Linked DNA regions of Homo sapiens: regions 2 and 3 are each linked to region 1. Evidence: promoter capture Hi-C in 16 types of primary human blood cells and fetal thymus (Javierre and others, 2016). All regions are on one chromosome and are shown on one strand. The core of a region is centred on a gene start or on the middle of the fragment in contact, and the rest is flanking DNA. Distances in the headings are between cores, read along the strand shown.

Region 1 (3,402 bases), core at 416-2,915:
TTATAATTTTCAGAGTTTGCCTCAGGAAAAAGGCGCCAAACAATTAGTTTCAGGGAGAGAGGTGGCGTGATGAGGTGTGGCACGGGGAAGGGAAAGGGGTTTAGAACTGTGTCCAAGCTATTTAGGAGAGAAAGGGGAGAGTCCCGGGGCTGTGAAAGGGGCGAGGAGGAGAGAGCAGCTGGGCCAGGGCGAGCGTTTGACCACACCCACTAGCCACTCCCTCCCAGCTGCCCGCAGAGCCACATCGAATCGAAACAGCAGTGGCAGCGGCTAAGATTCCGAAGGCAGGAGTCGCCATGGCAACGGGATTCATCTTGCAGGCAACTCCGCTTCGATTCACTGGGTCCTGCTCGAATCTCAAGAAACTACCAGCAAAACGGTCACGGTGGCATTTGCTCTTGATGCTCTCCAGAAAGTGGAGATGAAGGAGAGGGGAATGGAGTTCAGGCATCACTAAATATGTTATGGGGCGAGAGGTAGCTCCGCAAAGCCAGGCCGTGAACAACTTGAGACCTTAGCAGGGTTTGATGAATGAGTAAACGAACAAATGAAGGTACTAGGAAAGGCAAAGAACATCCAGAGGACTGAGAGCTCTGGGCCTCCTGCACGTCTCCACTCAGAGGGCAAGCCGATCACAAGCAGTTGGCTTTCAGAACCAGCTGGGTAAACCCGATTATCCAGCCCTCCTGCCCCACAGCGAGCCTAATCATTAGATTATCCGACACCTCCACCCCCGCGCTACCACCTCCTGGCCCAGGGCTTCAGGGCAGGCGCTTCGCCCCAGCCCAGGTGCTCTACACCAAGGGACCGTGGAGACTGAGATGCGCCCTCCCGAGAGGGACGGGCGGCAAAAGCCCTCTGCGGTGCCTCACAACCGGGTCCGCAGGCGGCGCAGCCTCCCCGGCCGCCAACACCCTGCTCTCCCTCCGCAACGCCCGATTTCCCTTCTCTCTGTTTTGAAACATTTAGGTCCAACTTAGTCTGAATTACAGGCGCTCCGTCCCTTTCGAATGGGGCTGGAAGTGAGGGTGCCAGGGGCACTGGGGGCTCTGCTCGGACGCGAACGGGTACACGAGTCCCTCCTTCCCTGTCGCCACCGCCGTGTCCACCAAGCCTGCCTCGGGGTTCTCCCTCTCGGAGCCGCCGGGCCGGGAGCTCGCGGACGCCGCTGCAGTACCCGCGGCCCCAGCCCCGGGGAGCCTTCAGCAAGGCGGCGAGTGTTACCCCGCCAGCTCCTCGGCCAGCCGGGCGCCTTAGAAAGAAAGGGAGGGACCCCAGTCCTTGGGGGCGTCTTCCTCCCTGCTGCCTCGGTTTGCGTTGCGCTGCAGCCATTTTCCCACCCCCAGCTAGGCAGCCGAGAGCTGTCTCGGTCCCGTTCCCACCCAGACCCAACCTGAAGGACGGGTTTAATATTTACCTACTGGCCCGGGAGCTCCGGGGAGGCAGCAGGAGGGCGCGCCGCGAACCCAGCGCCCAGCCCACGGAAGCACGCCCACCCCCGCACCACTGAGCAGTGCCACTTAATGAATGAGTGCGGCGGGCAAGGAGGAGCGTCCCCCTTACCTGAGCAGCCCCTGCATGCTGGAAAGGCGGCTCTGCACTCTGGGTACAATGGGATCCGGTTAAACAGTTTCCTTCACAGCCGCTCGTAGGTTACTAACTCGCAGGTGACATCACCCTCTCCTCGCCTGATAGGATACAAAGTGGCTCCCACTGCGCATGGACGCTCCGGTCGGGCGCGCAGACTCCTGGGAGTAGTGGTCCCAATCTATTAGCGGAGCCGGGACAGCTTTGCTGTCGGGACTCGCGGAACTACATCTCCCGACACACTCCTCCGCCCTTCTGCCCCGCCTCTTATTCCCGCCCCCTTCAGGACCCGCCCCCTCCCAGCCTTACAGCCTTGCAGTGTTAGCGGTGGTCGTTCCGAAGCCGAGCTGCGGACCGCACGGGAGAGTGGGAGGGCTGCCCTGCGGTCGTGTGTGTTGACTTGACCTCTACTTTGCCCGGCGCGGGCTCTGAAGGATCGGAGAGGTCCGGGGCTCGCGTGGTCCGGCCAGGCTCGCTCTAACTGGTCTTTCTTGGTCCCTGCTGGGAAGGGACGATTAAGACTTTTCTGCCTTCCCCAGGCGTAGCAGCTAATTCAGAGGGCTTACTGTTTTCTGGGTTAAATACGGTCCTCGAATTCTCCCCGCTCAACACTTCCAGAGGATGGGGCGACGCCGGTCCCAAGGCGGAGGAATCTCCTTGTACCCCCTCAATTCACCTTTCTCTTTTCTGCTTCCCGTTTAACGGAGACAAGGTGACCAGGCAGAACGCGGGGAACCACTTAGTCGGCTGAGCTGACAGAATAACGGAGGTTGTCACTACCAGAAGTGCGGTGTGATAGACTAGACAGTCGCCGCAACCCTCCGTCAGGGCGCCTGCTGCTGCTGCAAAGATAATACTATCGTGCAGCCATGCTTTTGTTCATCCCTGCAGCAGACTTCCCGCGCTGGTGGCTCTCCACTCCCAGGAAGAAAACGTCCTTGTCTAAAGTTTTAATAATTGTGTATCTATGTATACACATGTTTTTAAATCCACAACACTCTCACCTCATTTTCCATACCTTTTCAAATATTTTTATAAAGACATTAAACCAAACAACATCGTGCCGTTCAAGAATTGCCCTGCTCTTAACACACCTAAATATTTATTTAAAGGTAAGCAAAAGGTGTGTAGCAGAATTCTGACCCTTTAGGCAGGTTGTATTGTTAATACATAATTTTTTCCGTGGCATTTTTCATTATTCAGTGAATACCAAGTGTCTTTTAATATGAAAAGAATCAATGCATTTAGTTACTCGAGTTGTAAATGTAAATTTTAATGGCATTTGATGTGTCTCAATTCCATATAATGATCAGCTCACACACCCGTTCCACTAGCAAAATCTCTAGAAGACTGTGCATCTTGTGAAAAAAAGGTTCACAATTAAGATTTCAGACAACTCCCTACTGAAGTGTTGGTGGAACTCTTATCATTTATTTTCTCCTTTCATTCTGCAACACTAAGTTGGGTTCAAGTGAAAAAATATTTATGAAATTAGTTGAGGATCTCAGGGGAGAGGAAATGCTTTGTTTTGCTCAGAGAGATGTTTAGCGATGAATTCTGATGTTCTTTTAACAAGCCTGTTCTTTATAGACAAGACCCACTTTTCTCCCCCGAAAGAAGATAGCTTTGAATGTTGCTCTTCTGTCCTCAGCTACTTCTTCCATTTCAAATATTATCTAAAATGAACTCTGACAATATAAATTTTCCCCTGGCCATCAGATCAAGGATATAATCACTGATATTCTAACTAATGGGTAGACTTAATGTAACGCAGTTCATGGTGGAAAAATATTCAGAGAGAAACTTGACCTGGGA
Region 2 (3,402 bases), core at 247-2,746, 1.1 Mb before region 1:
TGCAAACTCCACGCAGGCAGGGATTCTTACCTGTTTTGTTCAGGTTCCAAGCACCTGGGCTTAGCACATAGAAGGCTCTTAAACATTTGTTAAATGAATGAATGAACCTCAACCTTTCTCACCTTCAGTGAAAAGCACTGCAAGGTGATTGAGGAGAAAATAAGGAAGCCTTAGTCCCTGACATTTGTTGAGAAAGGGGTCGAGGAGATGATGAGGGGTGGGGAGAGGAGGCTTTTCCCATGGAACTCTCCAACACTGCTGCAGAAAGCCAAGCACATGACATGCACCACACGACCCCTAGGTGGTGGTCCTTGCAGCCGATTTCAGAGACCATAGCCCCAAAAGTGCAGAGGGTTCCTCTGTTCCCTCTCCTTGGACAGTTCCCATTAGTCTGTCTGGCCTTACCTTTCTAAAGAAATTTGCCGCTTGAAAATCACAGTGATGTACGTTATTGAGTCCCCAGAACTCTCAATCCCCTCTGTTTTTGCCCATCCCAAGCCCAAACTGGCAAGCTCTCTTTCTGCCCGATCTTCCAGGAAGCTTCCCCAACTGCCACAGTCCTGTCCAATTTCACTGAATTTTATTATTTTCAATAGACATATTTTTTAAATGTCTCTCTAAAAGCGACTTAAGATTATTATGTAAGATTTTTATAAGATTATTAACTTTGTAAGATTTTGCCCATCTGAATCAATCTCCAAATCATAGAAAAAATGTTATTGACCTGATAATCGTGTTTCAATCCGGGGTTTGGAAAAGATGTTCACCACATGGAAATCATGGCTAAGACCCATTTCGCACAAAATGCACACTCAGGCATGGTTCAGTATCACGGTGCAGTGTGTGCGTGTCGGGTACCTCACCAGCCACACTTCGGCTTTGTAAAGGTGGGTTGGGGAGCCGAGTCCTCCCATCCTTTCACAGCCCCCGCAGGCCCTGGGTGAATGCTGGTCTAGTGAATTCACAGCTCCCGGGCAACTCCCAGCCGCGAGGCGGGGCGGCAGGGTGGAGGGAGCCACCCGCGGAGAGGCCTCGACCCCCACCCCAGCGAAGCCTAGGGCCGGGGAGCTGCACCTCGGCGCACCCCGCCTGGCGCCCTGAGCCCGCGTGGGCCCGGGCCGGGTTTGCGGGGAGGCAGCTCGGCTCCCGGAGGTCCTCCCGCAGGCGGCGCCCTCCGAGCCAGGCGCGAAGTGCACCCAGGCCCCGCAGCCCAGCGCCGCGTGGCCATCCAGAGGGATTTGTCAGCGCGCCCTATATAGCCGCAGACAGCTGCCATCTGTTATGTTTAGTAACACCACCACGCCGCTCCCCCTTCCTTGAGAATAAACCCGCCTTGGTCATTAAGCCACGAGGATATTTTTTTAACGACTCCCACTCCCTCTTGCAAGCAGTCTTAGCTCATCAGTCCGGGTCTGAGTCTTGAGCGCCCAATTCTGCTTCCTCACTGCGTCCTGGGCGCTCTCTGAGCTGGACGAGCCATCCACTGTGGGCTTGGGCCCCGGGCAGGTGCTTACAGGAAAAGGCGGAGACAGCGCCTCCCTCCATGGGTGCAGCGAGGAGAAAAATCCGTGGTGTGTGACCATTTTAATGCATCGCATTTCAGTTCTGCAAATGCAAAGTGTAAATTAGGCTAGAACATGATTGTGAATCAGACCAGACGTCATGATTAATTTATCACTGTGCTCCAGATACATCAGCTAAAATAATATGAATTTAAAGTAACGGTTCCTCCCGCCTTTGTGTTTGCTGGTGAACTCTAAAGAATAGATCACTAGAGAAATAAAGGAACTTAAGAGTCCACTCTATTCTCGTATTAGCGGAGCATGAACATAATTAAACATTCTCAATAAGGTTTCTTCCACCGTTTGAAATTAAATTTGCCCACCCACATTTTGTATCCGTCTGTGTAACACTCACTGATGCACCCTGAGCTGCTGATAAACATTGAGGCGGAGATTAGCTTTTTCATATTTCAGGTAACATTTATGATGCCTCAAGTTCTGGTTCCCAAACTGGCTGATTATCAAAATTGTCTAGGGCCTTGCCACTAAAAGTGTGGTCCATGAAGTAGCGGCACGGTATCACTTTTGAGATCGTTAGGAATGCAGAATCTCAGGCCCTACTCAGACCTGTTGATGGGAGTCTAAATTTTTTACAAGACCTGCCCTCACCACATCACCACCCCCATTAAAGTTTGAGAAGAATTGATGTAGTTTTTTAAAAACCACAAATACCTTTGCTCAGACATCTATATATGTTTAGTAAGCAGCCGAGTTGATTCTTATAAGTTGAGTTGTCAAGTTTGGAGGTCACTGGTCTTTGAGGCTCAAGGTTCAGATGACTTTTATGCTGATGACATGAACCAAATTTATTAAATCAGTGGAACTCTCTCTGAAAGTTTGGTACAGGTGAGTTTATCTGTTTAGTCATCCATGAATTACAAGAAAGCTTATTAATTATTTAGTTAAATAATGACACATTTAGTCCTCCAATTAGGAAAGCTCAACACTAGGAAGGAGGATTTTCTCCTTATGTAACTGGCTCATTCACTCCCAGACTGAGTGTAGGCATGAGGAAATCTTTTGCTTGGCCATCAAAGCCGCCCCCACCCCCTTCGAATGTTCTGACTTTCTTTATAACAGTACCTTTCATTCAGAAGAATACAAACATCCCTTGTGCTGCTGTTCAGTGATGTTGAGGGCTGTACTGGAGGACTGTGTCTAGTTCTGGACCTCACAATAAAAGAGGGATGTGGGGACCTTGGCAAAGGTTCAGAAGATATTTGTAAAGGTTATTTTTTAAATTCAGAATGAATCTTCACATTGTGTGGCATTATCTATAAAATGGACATGAAATGAACTTTGACTGTAGCTTGAGATTTTTACTTTAAGAGAAAAGCAATTGTAGAAATAAGTGGAGGAAGAAGAAAGAATGTCTCTTGAGCACAAGTTCTCACCTTGTGCATTAGTTACAATGACCTGGAGAAATTTTTTAAAACCCCAATGCCAGTTAAGTTGGGGGAGTCTTTGTGGTTGGGACCTGAGCATCAATAGTTTTTCAAGTACTCCAGGTGATTCCAATGCACAGCTCCTGAGCAGTGCTGCTGCAACTTTAATGTCATTGGCACCACCTGGGAAGTTTGTTAAAATGCAGATTGTGGCCGGTGCAGTGGCTCACACCTGTAATCCAAGCATTCTGGGAGGCCAAGATGGGCAGATCACTTGAGGCCAGGAGTCTGAGATCAGCCTGGACAACATGGCAAAAACCTGTCTCTACTAAAAATACAAAAAGTAGCTGGGTATGATGGTGCATGCCTATAATCCCAGCTACTTGGGAGGCTGAGACACCAGAATCACCTGAATTCAGGAGGTGGAAGTTGCAGTGAGCTGAGATTGTGCTACT
Region 3 (3,402 bases), core at 339-2,838, 1.1 Mb before region 1:
GCTGTATGCGGCCCACAGGCCCAGGGTTGGACAAGCTTGGTCTAGGCTTAAGTGACAGAGAAAATGTTTTATGCAGATTAAATGTAAAAGACATGTCGTGTCTATAACTGTTACATGGTGAATAGCATAAAAACATTCAATTTAGCAATGAAGTCACATCATTGACTAATAAGCTCTAACATACATTTTTGTTGTTTTATTTTTATCTTAAATGAAAATATTAACCAATAGCCATGTTGGAACTACATTTGGAAAGGTGGTTGTTAAACATTTCCCAGCACACACCTGGATCTGCATCTGCTGTGTCAATTGAACCACTCACTGGTTCTGTGACCTCAGGCAAGTCATTTAAATTATAAGCCTTGGTTTTATCCTCCACAGAATACTTCCTCCTAAAATGTGTTGTGAAAATTAGAATAGATGAAGGCACCCTTGAAAAGATGACTGATGCGGTTGGTTGCCCCACCACTTCCTACTACTTGGCAGAGCCTCCTCGTTGGCAGATCCTTCTCTCACTAGAGCATGTATATGGATGCATGCTCTCTCACCCTCCCTTGTAGCTTAGAGCAGAGCATACCAATCTATGTGCCAGCATACCCTGGTATGTCTCAGATGGGTCATAGATGTGATAAGGTATGGATCCCTTAAGCCCTTGGGACATTCAAGTGAGGCTGAGCTGCTGAAGCCCTGGGATGGTATGACTGGCCACAAGCAACATTACCCAGGTACCCCTCTGTGTCACAAAAACGTTATCTTTGTATTTGTGTCATGGTGTGAAAAAATTGAGAAGCACTGCCTGGGGACATAGTGAGGTAGCCCAATTCTGGATAAAGGAAATTGAGAAGTCTTGAGGGGGTAGAGAGGTTTTCTTCCCTAATAAGAAGAATCACAGGAGAGAAAATGCCTTCCTCAGCCATATGTTGTTATTTCTATATGTGAGCCTGGAATTTCAAGGTTATCTTGCAAAGAACCAAGGCAATGTAGAGAAAAGAATTGATAGCAAGTGGCTGGATCTTTCACATTGTAAAGCCATTGAGCCATCCGTGCAATTGCCCACCTTGGGAATTTATTTTTAAGAGTGATAATAAATGCTCCTCATTGTTTAAACTACTTTGATTTTTGTATTTGGTTATTCATAATTAAAAACACCCAAATACAGTAGAAGAACTGGTACATCCCTGACACCTAATGAGTGCTCAATATGGTTAGTTAATCACCAAATTAGATCCTTTGCCTTTAGAAAAGCTGCCATGGTCAAATGTGTGTTGATCTTATTTTTCGTAAATATTTAAGAAATTTGTTCAGTAACTAGCTTAACTTTTAATATTTATCTTGAGTCTCTTCTAAATATGTTTTTACTGTATAATAAAAGCAATAATTGAAAAATGACATCATTTTAAGCTTGAGAGCAACTAGATACAAAGATGTTGATATGCATTTTCTCTTCTTGAAGGATCTAGACAAACTGGAGCACCATTACATGAAAAAGGTTAAAGAATCAATGTTTTGCAAAATAGAACTGGAATTAATTCATGGGAATTACAGAGAAGATCATATTAGTTCAATATAAAAAGAGGGCCTAGAATGTGCCAAGCTCCATACAATGCCCCTCATGAGTGTTATTTAATTCTCACAACAACTTTGCAAAAAAGAAACTATTTTTTTTTCCATTTTACAAAGGAGGAAGCTAAGGCTGTGAAAAAGAGCTCTTTTGCAAGCCTAGGACCTGATTCCAAAATTCCCACTCTTTCTGTTGCAAATTCTGGCTAAGCTTTCCAGAGATGACTTGCTTTCCCCTTGAGGCCCTTTCAGTGCATTGTGCCATGGAAAACAAAAAGCCCAACAATGACATCTTTACCAAAGATGCCTTGGGGAGATGGGAGAAGAGTTACAATGCACATTACACAGCAAAATCTTTTTTAAGCTCCAAGTAAAATTGGTTTTTTCTTAGAGTTTTGCTTCCAGCAGTCACTTCCTCCATTCTCCTGCTCTCTCCACGTGAGGAAAACTTCTATCCTGCCTTCTCCTAATACACTTTCCTGTTTTTTTTTTCCTGCACATTTCTTAAAAATCCCACATAAGGCAAAAGCCAAGACAATATCCATCAACACCTCCACCCCCACCGCATGTCCATGGAGAGCTTCAAGTCATCCTGCCGCTGGTACAAACACGGCAGAGGCCTCTTTGTAAAGAAGTGGTAGGTAGAATTCAGGTTAGCACCAGAATCTGAAAACTCCAGCTCCTTTGACTGGGACCAGGCTGGTAATATAAATGTTAGATCAGGCTGGGTCTGACACAATGGGGATCAGTAGAGCATACTTGTCACATTTGAAGGCATTCAGAAAAATAATAACCTTAAAACATTCTAAACATGTTGCAATCAAAGAGGATACCCCTTGACCACTGCACGAATTGGAGTTCAAAGATCATCTCTCTTTTGCCTAGGCTGTAGACTAGTTATTTAACCTCTCTCAGACTTGGTTTCCTCTTCTGGAACAGGGTATATCAACTACCTTGCAGAAATAAATGACATCCTGTACACAATGCACCTACCACGTTGCCTGACCCAATAATGTGTACATACATAAGAAAATGTTCATGCCCTTTGCTCACTTTAAAATTTTTTTTTCTTGTATATTTGTTTAAGTTCTTCGTAGACTCTGGAATGGAGCTGGAAGCTGTCATCCTCAGCACACTAACGCAGGAACAGAAAACCAAGCACTGCATGTTCCCACTTATAAGTGAGAGCTGAACGAGCAGAACACATGGACATATGAAGGGGAACAACACACTCTGGGGCCTGTGAGGTGCAGGGAGAGCATCAAGAAGAACAGCTAATGGGTGCTGGGCTTAATACCTGGGTGATGGGTTGATCTGTGCGGCAAACCACCATGGCACACATTTACCTATGTAACAAACCTTGACATCCTGCACATGTACCCCGGAACTTAAAAATAAAAGTTGACAAAAAGAAAACATAACTTACTTTTAAGCACATAGTGTGTGTGTGTGTATATATATATGTATATATGTATATATAAGTATATATGTATATATGTATATATAAGTATATATGTATATATGTATATGTGTATATACATGTATATATATGTATACATATATGTGTGTATATATATATATATATTTAGATGGAGTCTCCCTCTGTCACCAGGCTGGAGTGCAGTGGCACGATTTCGGCTCACTGCAACCTCCACCTCTCGGGTTCAAGCGATTCTCCTGCCTCAGCCTCCCCAGTAGCTGGGATTACAGGCGCCCACCACCACGCCCCGGCTACTTTTTGTATTTTTTGTAGTAGAGACGGGGTTTCACTATGTTGGCCAGGATGGTCTCAATCTCCTGACCTCCACCCGCCTTGGCCTCCCAAAATGTTGGGATTACAGA

Evidence for each region. The method cuts DNA at HindIII sites, captures the fragments that hold promoters and counts their contacts. A CHiCAGO score of 5 or more calls a contact.
Region 2: a contact is called between a fragment that was not itself captured here and the fragment with the promoter of DAAM1 in region 1, in 1 of 17 cell types (naive CD8 T cells). The highest score is 7.8, in naive CD8 T cells.
Region 3: a fragment that was not itself captured here is called in contact with the fragment with the promoter of DAAM1 in region 1 in 1 of 17 cell types (naive CD8 T cells); the score reaches 5.0 in naive CD8 T cells.

What each region holds. Positions count from the first base shown.
Region 1 is chr14:59,186,930-59,190,331 of GRCh38, reverse strand. It overlaps DAAM1 (dishevelled associated activator of morphogenesis 1), which reads right to left and starts at 1,665. Exons shown (of 25, transcript NM_001270520.2): 1 at 1,564-1,665. RefSeq lists enhancers at 33-82, 513-672, 383-1,142, 1,923-2,162 and silencers at 1,033-1,252, 1,313-1,452. The HindIII fragment of the contact is 5,514 bases long and covers 1-3,402 here.
Region 2 is chr14:60,325,719-60,329,120 of GRCh38, reverse strand. No RefSeq gene overlaps it. Among named protein-coding and RNA genes, the nearest start is that of LINC02322, 4.2 kb to the right of the region's middle. RefSeq lists a silencer at 893-1,202 and an enhancer at 1,313-1,372. The HindIII fragment of the contact is 1,908 bases long and covers 543-2,450 here.
Region 3 is chr14:60,239,700-60,243,101 of GRCh38, reverse strand. LOC101927702 (a long non-coding RNA gene) reads left to right here. Exons shown (of 3, transcript NR_188027.1): 2 at 232-339; 3 at 2,648-2,976. Among named protein-coding and RNA genes, the nearest start is that of PPM1A, 7.8 kb to the left of the region's middle. The HindIII fragment of the contact is 370 bases long and covers 1,404-1,773 here.